Regions from separate parts of the Homo sapiens genome. Here regions 1 and 3 are each linked to region 2. The links are contacts of gene promoters, found by promoter capture Hi-C in blood cells and fetal thymus (Javierre and others, 2016). All regions are on one chromosome and are shown on one strand. Each heading gives the region's core, a stretch centred on a gene start or on the middle of the fragment in contact. The rest is flanking DNA. Distances are from core to core; before and after follow the strand shown. Region 1 holds the start of GATD1 (glutamine amidotransferase class 1 domain containing 1). Region 2 has its middle 9.1 kb from the start of RNH1. Region 3 holds the start of SCGB1C1 (secretoglobin family 1C member 1).

What was found. Contacts are between HindIII fragments. The CHiCAGO score rates a contact against its expected background, and 5 or more counts as called.
Region 1: the fragment with the promoter of GATD1 here is called in contact with a fragment that was not itself captured in region 2 in 2 of 17 cell types (activated CD4 T cells and non-activated CD4 T cells); the score reaches 5.3 in activated CD4 T cells.
Region 3: the fragment with the promoter of SCGB1C1 here is called in contact with a fragment that was not itself captured in region 2 in 9 of 17 cell types (naive CD8 T cells, total B cells, total CD4 T cells and 6 more); the score reaches 8.6 in naive CD8 T cells.

Annotation. Positions count from the first base shown.
Region 1 is chr11:776,126-779,101 of GRCh38, forward strand. It overlaps GATD1 (glutamine amidotransferase class 1 domain containing 1), which reads right to left and starts at 1,362. Exons shown (of 8, transcript NM_182612.4): 1 at 1,274-1,362. The coding sequence starts at 1,337. LOC124900301 reads left to right here and starts at 1,453. Exons shown (of 2, transcript XM_047427954.1): 1 at 1,453-1,570; 2 at 1,992-2,976. GATD1-DT (GATD1 divergent transcript) reads left to right here and starts at 1,453. Exons shown (of 2, transcript NR_126343.1): 1 at 1,453-1,570. RefSeq lists silencers at 783-992, 1,003-1,712, 1,763-1,862. The HindIII fragment of the contact is 13,028 bases long and covers 1-2,976 here.
Region 2 is chr11:514,957-517,804 of GRCh38, forward strand. It overlaps a transcript of LRRC56 not described here. Among named protein-coding and RNA genes, the nearest start is that of RNH1, 9.1 kb to the left of the region's middle. The HindIII fragment of the contact is 932 bases long and covers 941-1,872 here.
Region 3 is chr11:191,675-194,798 of GRCh38, forward strand. It overlaps SCGB1C1 (secretoglobin family 1C member 1), which reads left to right and starts at 1,404. Exons shown (of 3, transcript NM_145651.3): 1 at 1,404-1,480; 2 at 2,038-2,237; 3 at 2,744-2,901. The coding sequence starts at 1,426. The coding sequence ends at 2,776. The HindIII fragment of the contact is 15,974 bases long and covers 1-3,124 here.

The sequences.
Region 1 (2,976 bases), core at 112-2,611, 260 kb after region 2:
GAGGGTGCCACCACGCCCAGCTAATTTTTGTACTTTTAGTAGAGACGGAGTTTCACTGTTTTAGCCAGAATGGTCTCGATCTCTTGACCTCGTGATCCGCCCGCCTCAGCCTCCCAAAGTGCTGGGATTACAGGCGTGAGCCACTGCGCCCAGACTCTTCATTCTTATATAAGTTAATACATATTCACTGTAAAATGTCCACTTATCGAGGAAAAACAAAGTGCCCAGTAGACTGCCGCAGGCTCTGTTCCCCCAGCTGCCCGCCCTTCCGGCCTCCTGAAGTGCTGCCCCCAGCCTGCTGGCGCTAAGACCCCACGTCCTCAACATGCCGGACCTCCTCACGCCTACCTGCTCTGGAAACAAGCCCCAACCCACCCCCCCAGGACTGAACCCCACTCGAGGCTCCTCCCACCCGCAGTCTGGGGGCATCACTCAGGACCCCTGGAGCTCAGCACATCGTGACGCCACAACCCCACAGCCCCATCTCCCCGTCCACACTTGAGGAGCTACAGACTTCAAGAGGCAGACCCCTGGGTCGCAACCCCGGCCCCCACCTCTCCGTGGTGCGGTGACCTTGGGCTGCTCACTTCCCTCTCCAAAAGGCTCAGAACAAGGCCAGGCACCCTCGTGCTCCGCTGCTCATCCCTCCCCTGCTGCCCTGAGACCCTGCAGGCTCAGCGCCAGGGGACGCACCCCGCTGCGCTCCGACCCGCGTGAGCCCCAGGCCAGTACTGCCCTGGTACCCTTGCCCCAGGACGGGGGCCGCGGGGCGCCTTCTCCAGGAGGGGGCTCCGGGTCTCCTCAGAAGCCGGTGGCTCAGAAGGTCAGGGTCCCCGCGGCCGCCCGACCTCAGAGCTGGGTCAACTCCCGGAATGGCCCCTCCCCACACCCGGGCTCCCCTCTCGCAGCGCAGCGGCCTCAGAGACCAGGCCCAGGCACGCGGCTCCCTCCGCTAGAAACGTCGGGCCCGGGCCGCCTCGCCGGGCAGACGAGACTCGGAGGAGCGACGCGGCGCCGGGATCCATCACGACCCCCCGACCCCGCCCCGAGCTCCATCCCACCAACCCGCGACCCCACCCCCGCCCCCGTCCCCGCCCCGAGCTCCATCCCGACACCGACCCCGCTCCGCCCTCCCCCGGCCCCTGCCCGGCGCCCCCAGCGGCCTCGGCCTCCGGCGCCACGTGACGCGCGCCCACCGTGTCCCGAACCTCCCGCCCCGGGCAGCCCCCTCGCGGACGCTCTTCGGACACTGGCCCCGGCCGCCGGGCCTCACCTTCGGCGGCGCCGCTGGCCACGAGCAGACAGGCGGGCCTGTTAGGGAGCCGCTCGGACGCCATGGCTCGGGCTCGGCGCTGGGTCTGCGCGTGCGCGGCGTCTGGGCGCGCCCGGGAGTTCGCGGGTCACGTGCCCTGGCGGCCGGGGGCGGAGCCGGGTGGGACTGGGCGCCTGCGCGTTCGTACCCGGTCCGGGTCGGCTGGGCTGCCCGCCGCTCCGCGCGCCCGGGCGGTCGCAGGTCGCGCCTGCTTTGGCCCCGGCGGGTTCGGCATCCGAGCCTGGCAGGGGCCAATAGGTAGGGTCGCGAGGGTCCTCCCCGGCCGCATGCGCAGTCTGAGCGCGCGCGGGGTAGGGCTCTTGGCCTGGGGTGGGGGCGCGGGCATCAGCAGAGCCAGGCGGCGGTGTCGGGGCGCGAAGGTGCCCGTGGTGTTCCGGTGGCCACACCCGAGGAGCAGGGGAGACCGGGGGGCTGCGGGGTCAGAAGCTCCGGGTGTCCCCGGAGACTAGGAGGGGGACGGCGGGGTCCAGGAGGCGGGGTGGGCTCCGCCGGCCCAGGACGGGGGCGTCGCGGGGAGGCCTGCAGGGTTGTGGGGCGTCGGGCTGAGCTCCTGGGAGGACGGAGTGTCACTTCCTGAGATGGGGACACCTCGGGCGTGCTGGCTTTGGTGAGGAGAATTGAAGCAGTTTTTCTTTTTTTTTTTTTTTTTTTGAGACAGGGCCTCTGGAGTGCAGTGGCGTGATCTCGGCTCACTACAGCGTCTGCCTACCGTGTTCAAGCGATCCTCCCACCTCAGCCTGTTGAGCAACCGGGACCCCAGGTGCACACTCCACCACGCCCAGCTAATTTTTTTGTGTTTTGGGTAGAGAGGGGGTCTCACTGTGTTGTCCAAGCTGGTCTCGAACTCCTGATCTAAAGCGATCTGCCTGCCTTGGCCTCCCAAAGTGCGAGGACTACAGGCGTGAGCCACCGCGCCTGGCCTGAAGCAGTTTTTCCTTAGACTGTAGTTGGAGGGGGTGAGACCACGTGGAGTGGTTGGCAGACAGGCAGGCACCCTTTGAGGCCAAAAGGGCGCTTGAGACAGAGCCAGCAGGCGAGCGGGCCGCCCAGGTCCCTGGCCCCCTGCTGCCAGTATGAAGGTCCCACCAAGCCTCTGCTCCAACCAGGGGAACCGTCATGGTTGGGAACAGCCAAGGTGAGGAATTCTGTGGGTCACACCCCCTGAAAACCACTGGCCTCCGCCGGGCGCGGTGGCTCACGCTTGTTATCCCAACACTTTGGGAGGCCCAGGCGGGTGGATCACGAGGTCAGGAGTTCAAGACCAGCCTGGCCAAGATGGTGAAACCCCGTCTCTACTAAGAAAAATACAAAAATTAGCAGTGGCAGCACCTGTCATCCAAGCTACTTGGGAGGCTGAGGCGGGAGAATCACGTGAACCCAGCGGGGGCAGAGGTTGCAATGAACCAAGATTGCGCCACTGCACTCCAGCCTGGGCGACAGATTGAGACTCCTTCTCAAAAAAAAAAAAAAGCCACTGGCCTCTGGCTCCCCCTGGCCCAGCCTGGAGAAGGGTCCCTGACCCCCGTCAGACAAGCAGTGCACCCTGCCTCACCTGACACAGAGCCCTCCCACCACAGGGGAAGTGGGAGCTGGGAGCTCCTGGTACAGGCAAGGCCGAGAGTTGGGTTAGGGAGCAGAGGACG
Region 2 (2,848 bases), core at 157-2,656:
TGGGCAGAACACAGGGCTGCCTTGTCACCACTGCCTGGCTGAACCTGAAATTGGGCCGTTTGACAGAAAGACTTGAAAGGGCCACCAGTAAATTCTTTTTTCTTTTCATTGATTTTCCTCTTCTTACTTTCCTCCTCCTGAAGTTGGGGTCATGTCCCAAGAAGACCCACAAGGCCTGGCCTGTGGGTGCACATGTGGGGAGGGTCAGGTCTGTCGGCTGAGGAGGGCATTGGTAGGGGACTTTGAGCAGTGCTGCTCCGGAGACACGAATGATGGGATGGGAGGCTCTCCCATATCTGCCGAGAGCACAGCACCCCATGACTCCTGGGAGCTTGTCATAGATGCTGCAGATGAGTCCTTCCTCAGACGGGATATTTGCTAATGCCTCTGCCAGCCTGGGCTTGTCTTCTCAGGGCCTTTCAAAATGCACACACCCTTCATTCTCATGATGTCCAGTGGATCAGGTTTTCCTTTATGTGTCATGCTTTTAGTGTTTAAGAATCATTTCTCTAACCCAAGTCACACTGACATCCTCCTTTTCATTCTTAACGCACATTTTACAGTTGTAGGCCTTACATTTTGGCTTATAATAAGTTCTGAGGCCAGGCACAGTGCTCACACCTGTAATCCTGGCACTTTGAGAGGCCAAGGCGGGTGGATCACCAGAGGTCAGGAGTTTGACACAAGCCTGGCCAACATGGTGAAACCCCGTCTCTACTAAAAATACAAAAAGTAGCCAGGTGTGGTGGCGGGCACCTGTAATCCCAGCTACTCCAGAGGCTGAGGCAGGAGAATCACTTGAACCTGGGAGACAGAGGTTGCAGTGAGTCAAGATTGTGCCACTGCCCTCCAACCTGGGCGAGAGAGTGAGACTCCATCTCAAAAAAATTAATAGTAAATTTTGAATGGATTTATATATGTACTGTCATGTATAGATTGAAGCTTCCATTCATATGTGTAGCCCCGTCATTCTAGTACCATTTGTTGCTAAGATTCTCCTTTCTCTGCTGAATTTGCTTACACTTATTTCAAAATCAGTTGAGCATGTATGTGAGGGTCTACTCTCGATCCTCTATTCTGTTCCACTGATCTATTTGTCTATCCTGTTACCAATGCCACACTGTCTGGATTTCTGAACCTTTATAACACATCTTGGGCCAGGTGCAAAGGTTCACGCCTGTAATCCTAGCACTTTGGGAGGCCGAGGTGGGTGGATCACTTGAGGCCAGGAGTTCAAGACCAGCCTGGCCAACATGGCGAAACCCGTCTCTACCAAAAATACAAAAACTAGCCAGGCATGGTGGTACACGCCTGTAATCCCAGCTACTCGGGAGGCTGAGGTACAAGAATCACTTGAGCCCCAGAGGCGGAGGCTGCAGTGAGCTGAGATCGTACCACTGCACTCCAGCCTGAGTGACAGAGCGAGCCTCCATCTCAAAAAAAAAAAAACCCAAATCTTGAAGCCAGGCATAGAATGCCCTCTCACTTGACCATTGTTTTCCAGAGCTGTTTTGATGATTGTAGGCCCACAGCATTGCCACACACTGAAACACAGGCCCATGAGCACACATATATGTATAATACAAATATAAGTGCACACCATGACGCAGTGAAATTTATCACAGGAATGCAAGGCTGGTTCAACATGAAATATGAGCCAATGGAATTCACCATATAAGCAGATTAAAAGACAAAAAGACGGCCGGACGTGGTGGCTCACATCTGTGATCCCAGCACTTTGGGAGGCTGAAGCAGGAGGATTCTGAGCAACATAGTGAGACCTGGTCTCTAAATAAATAAAATAAGACAAAAATACATCATCATTTCAGTAGACTTAGAAAAGGCATTTGACAGAATCCAGCAGGCTTATAAAGCTTTTTAATTATTTTTTTCTCCCTCTCCCTCTCCCTCTCCCTTCGGTCTCCCTCTGTTGCCGAGGCTGGACTGTACTGCTGTGGTCTCGGCTTGCTGCAGCCTCCCTGCCCCGGGCTCCCATGGTTCTCCTGCCTCGGCCTGCCAAGTGCCTGGGATTGCAGGCATGCACCGCCACGCCTGACTGGTTTTTGTATTTTTGGAGGAGACGGGGTTTTGCCCTGTTGACCGGGCTGGTCTCCGGCTCCTGACCTCCAATGGTCTGCCCGCCTCGGCCTCCCGGGGTGCTGGGATTGCAGACGGAGTCTTGCTCACTCAATGCTCAGTGTTGCCAAGGCTGGAGCGCAGTGGCGTGATCTCAGCTCGCCACAACCTCTACCTTCCAGCTGCCTGCCTTGGCCTCCCAAAGTGCTAAGATTACAGCCTCTGCCCGGCCGCCACCCCGTCTGGGAGGTGAGGAGCATCTCTGCCCGGCCGCCCATCGTCTGGGAGGTGAGGAGCGCCTCTGCCCGGCCGCCCGGTCTGGGAAGTGGGCGCCTCTGCCCAGCTGCCCCGTCTGGGAGGTGGGGGGCGCCTCTGCCTGGCTGCCCCGTCTGGGAGTTGAGGGGTGCCTCTGCCCGACCGCCCCACCTGGGAAGTGAGGGGCACCTCTGCCCAGCCACCGCCTTATCTGGAAGGTGGGGAGCGCCTCTGCCCGACTGCCCCGTCTGGGAAGTGGGCGCCTCTGCCCGGCCGTCCCATCTGGGGGGTGAGGAGCACCTCTGCCCGGCCACCCCGTCTGGGAGGTGAGGAGTGCCTCTGCCAGGCCGCCCCGTCTGGGAAGTGTACCCAACAGCTCCAAAGAGACAGCGACCATCGAGAACGGGCCATGATGACAGTGGCAGTTTTGTCAAAAAGAAAAGGGGGAAATGTGGGGAAAAGAAAGAGAGGTCAGATTGTTACTGTGTCTGTGTAGAAAGAAGTAGACATAGGAGAC
Region 3 (3,124 bases), core at 154-2,653, 320 kb before region 2:
GCTGGTCTATATCTGTTAGAATTGCTAAACTCTTTTAAAAATGACAAATTGCTGAAGGAAAAACAAGAACTCTTTTCATTGCCAGTGGAACACAGCGTATAAGACCAAAATACGCCACCCCAAAACCTAACCCTAACCCTAACCCCTAACCCCTAACCCTAACCCTAACCCTAACCCTAACCCCTAACCCCTAACCCTAACCCTAACCCTAACCCCTACCCCTAACCCCTAACCCTTACCGGTGACCCTACTGTATCCCTGACTCCTAACCAACGTTGATCCCTAACCCTAAACCCCTTACTGTAACTATAATCTTCATCCCACCCTATCCCTAGCCTTAGTGCCATCCCCCAGGCTTTTTCCAGGATGGGATTTTATGTGATTGTTTCGAATAGGTGGAAATCTCTGCTCATTTAGGAGTCGTTCAATGTAACAAGGATCTTGGTCTTCACAGAGACCCTAAACGCGTGTGGCCCAGGGCCATGTGGATGCCATCAGCCACTAGGTGGCAGCAGGGGCCCTTTGGATTTGAACAATGCAGCTCAGTCAGAGGGCTGGACTGGGACACCCCTACTCATGGTCTCTCTTGGCATGGTTTTGTTTGGTGACTCCAGGTGTCCCAACCTCCTGTGTCCATTGTAATATGTCCTGGGACCATCTCCCCCAGGGCCTTCAACCTGGGGGGTTGAACCCCAGGATAGCAACCCCAAGCCCTCCTTGCTATCCTGGCTACTGATGGAAGATGTACCTCAAGCCTGTCCCATTCCTCACTTCCTGCTGAGACCTGGCCCCAACATGGCCAGCTCTATGTTCCTCAGACCCTCTCAGGCCACCTTCTCTCTTCTAGGCACTGTCACTGGGCTTCTCCCCACCCCATAGATCCACAGCCCCCAGGTAGTCCTACAGCTGTGTCCACTCGTGCAGCCTGCACCCCCTTCCCCTACTCGGCCACCCCATCTGAGTAGTAAGGGGCCCCTGCCTGATTGGAGACCCCCAGATGCAGACCCAGATCACACAGCACACTGATAAGAGGAGGGATTCGCACCTTAAAAGAAAGGCGTGGGACCAACCCCAGATCCCACCACTCTCGGCCTCAAGGGCAGGCATGACTAGAGGCCCTTGGTGGCCAGGACCCACTGCCTTCTTCACCGATCAGTTGGCATGGCCTCTCACCAGTGTTCCCTCCTAACACACCTGTTCTCTCTCTCACACACCCTAAAGCCGCTTGCCAACCACCTGTCACACAGCCACTCCATGCCTGTTGCTGCTTGGCACCCACTGGGGGCCAGGGATGTGAACAAACCTCATCTAAGCTGGCTGCCGGGTCCTAATGGGCAGGTCCGGTCCGCCCTCTAGGAGAGGTGCTGTCCGGTGAGGCATAAAATCCCGGGATTCTGGCTGGAGGCAGCTCCTGAGACTGCTGGCATGAAGGGGAGCCGTGCCCTCCTGCTGGTGGCCCTCACCCTGTTCTGCATCTGCCGTGAGTCTGTGCCACTGGGGTTTCCAGAACATTCAGGGGTGGGGGGGAGTGGGGGGTACCTGAGAAGGTAAAATCCTGGCATCGGGCCTCTGCAGTGAACACTCCACCTGCTTCTGTCACAGAAGTGGGCAAGGACCCTGCAGAACCCGCGCCCACCCTACTCCACCCCAACCAAGGACAAAGCCCAGCTGACCCAACACCAGCCCAGTGTCTCCTACCCCAGCCCAGTCCAGCCTGACCTGACCCTTCAAGCCTCTGGTCATAATAGCCTCTCATCAGGGGAAATTTCCCCCACACCAGGAGCTTAACTTTCCTTCCCTGGTGATCCCAGGGAATGCTGAGTGGAAATTGGAGCAGCTAAGATTAAGGGGGATGTGGAGGGGTCTTCGGGCAAGGTGGAGTTGGAGGTGTTGTGGAGGAAGCCCTGGGGAGGAGAGGTGGGCATTGAAGGGGAAGGTCTGGAGACCATGGAGGTTGGAGCCCTGGGGCAGGTCCAGGGCTGTGGTTGCACCAGAGTCACCCTGTCCTGTCCTGGCATCATCTCGCTCGTGATGCAGGGATGGCCACAGGGGAGGACAACGATGAGTTTTTCATGGACTTCCTGCAAACACTACTGGTGGGGACCCCAGAGGAGCTCTATGAGGGGACCTTGGGCAAGTACAATGTCAACGAAGATGCCAAGGCAGCAATGACTGAACTCAAGTCCTGTATAGATGGCCTGCAGCCAATGCACAAGGCGGAGCTGGTCAAGCTGCTGGTATGAGGGCGGCGGGCACCCCATTTTCTAAAGATCTGCAGCCTTACCAAGACCACCCAACACAGCACCCACACAGCCTACCCCACCCACAGACATCCACCACCCACAGACATTGCACCCGCATCAGCCAGCTCAGGTGGACACCCCAGACCTCCTGTCCACCGAGCAGCCCCCAGACTCCATAGACCTCCTCCCCAGTCTGTGGGATACTCCTCCATGCACACATGTGAACATACACAGAGATCCAAACACAGGTGCAGACATGAAATGTACACTGCGTGCACACATGTATAAACACGTTCACACCCACATGCTCACACTGGGATATGCACACACATACATGTGTGCACACCATCACATGTGCACACACACCTCCCAGCTGCTGGGAGGAGATAGGCAGCAATATGCCAGACCCCCCCCCACTGAGGGCCTTGCTTGCCTGATGGAGCTGTGGCTCTCCACTTATTGAGCACAGCCCTCTTAGTCCACATGTGTCTGCCTTCCAGGTGCAAGTGCTGGGCAGTCAGGACGGTGCCTAAGTGGACCTCAGACATGGCTCAGCCATAGGACCTGCCACACAAGCAGCCGTGGACACAACGCCCACTACCACCTCCCACATGGAAATGTATCCTCAAACCGTTTAATCAATAAAGCCTCTTCCGCAGCTCAGGCTCCTGTCTCTGCCCCCACAGAGGGGCACACAAATGGGGACATCAGGAACACACTCGGGGCCACAGCCACACACACAGACCCACATACAGAGGATCCCACTCAAGGAGCACACGTGCGAAAGTCCCCACAGAGGGACACACAAATGGGGACATCAGGAACACAGGGCCACAGCCACACACACAGACCCACATACAGAGGATCCTACTCAAGGAGCA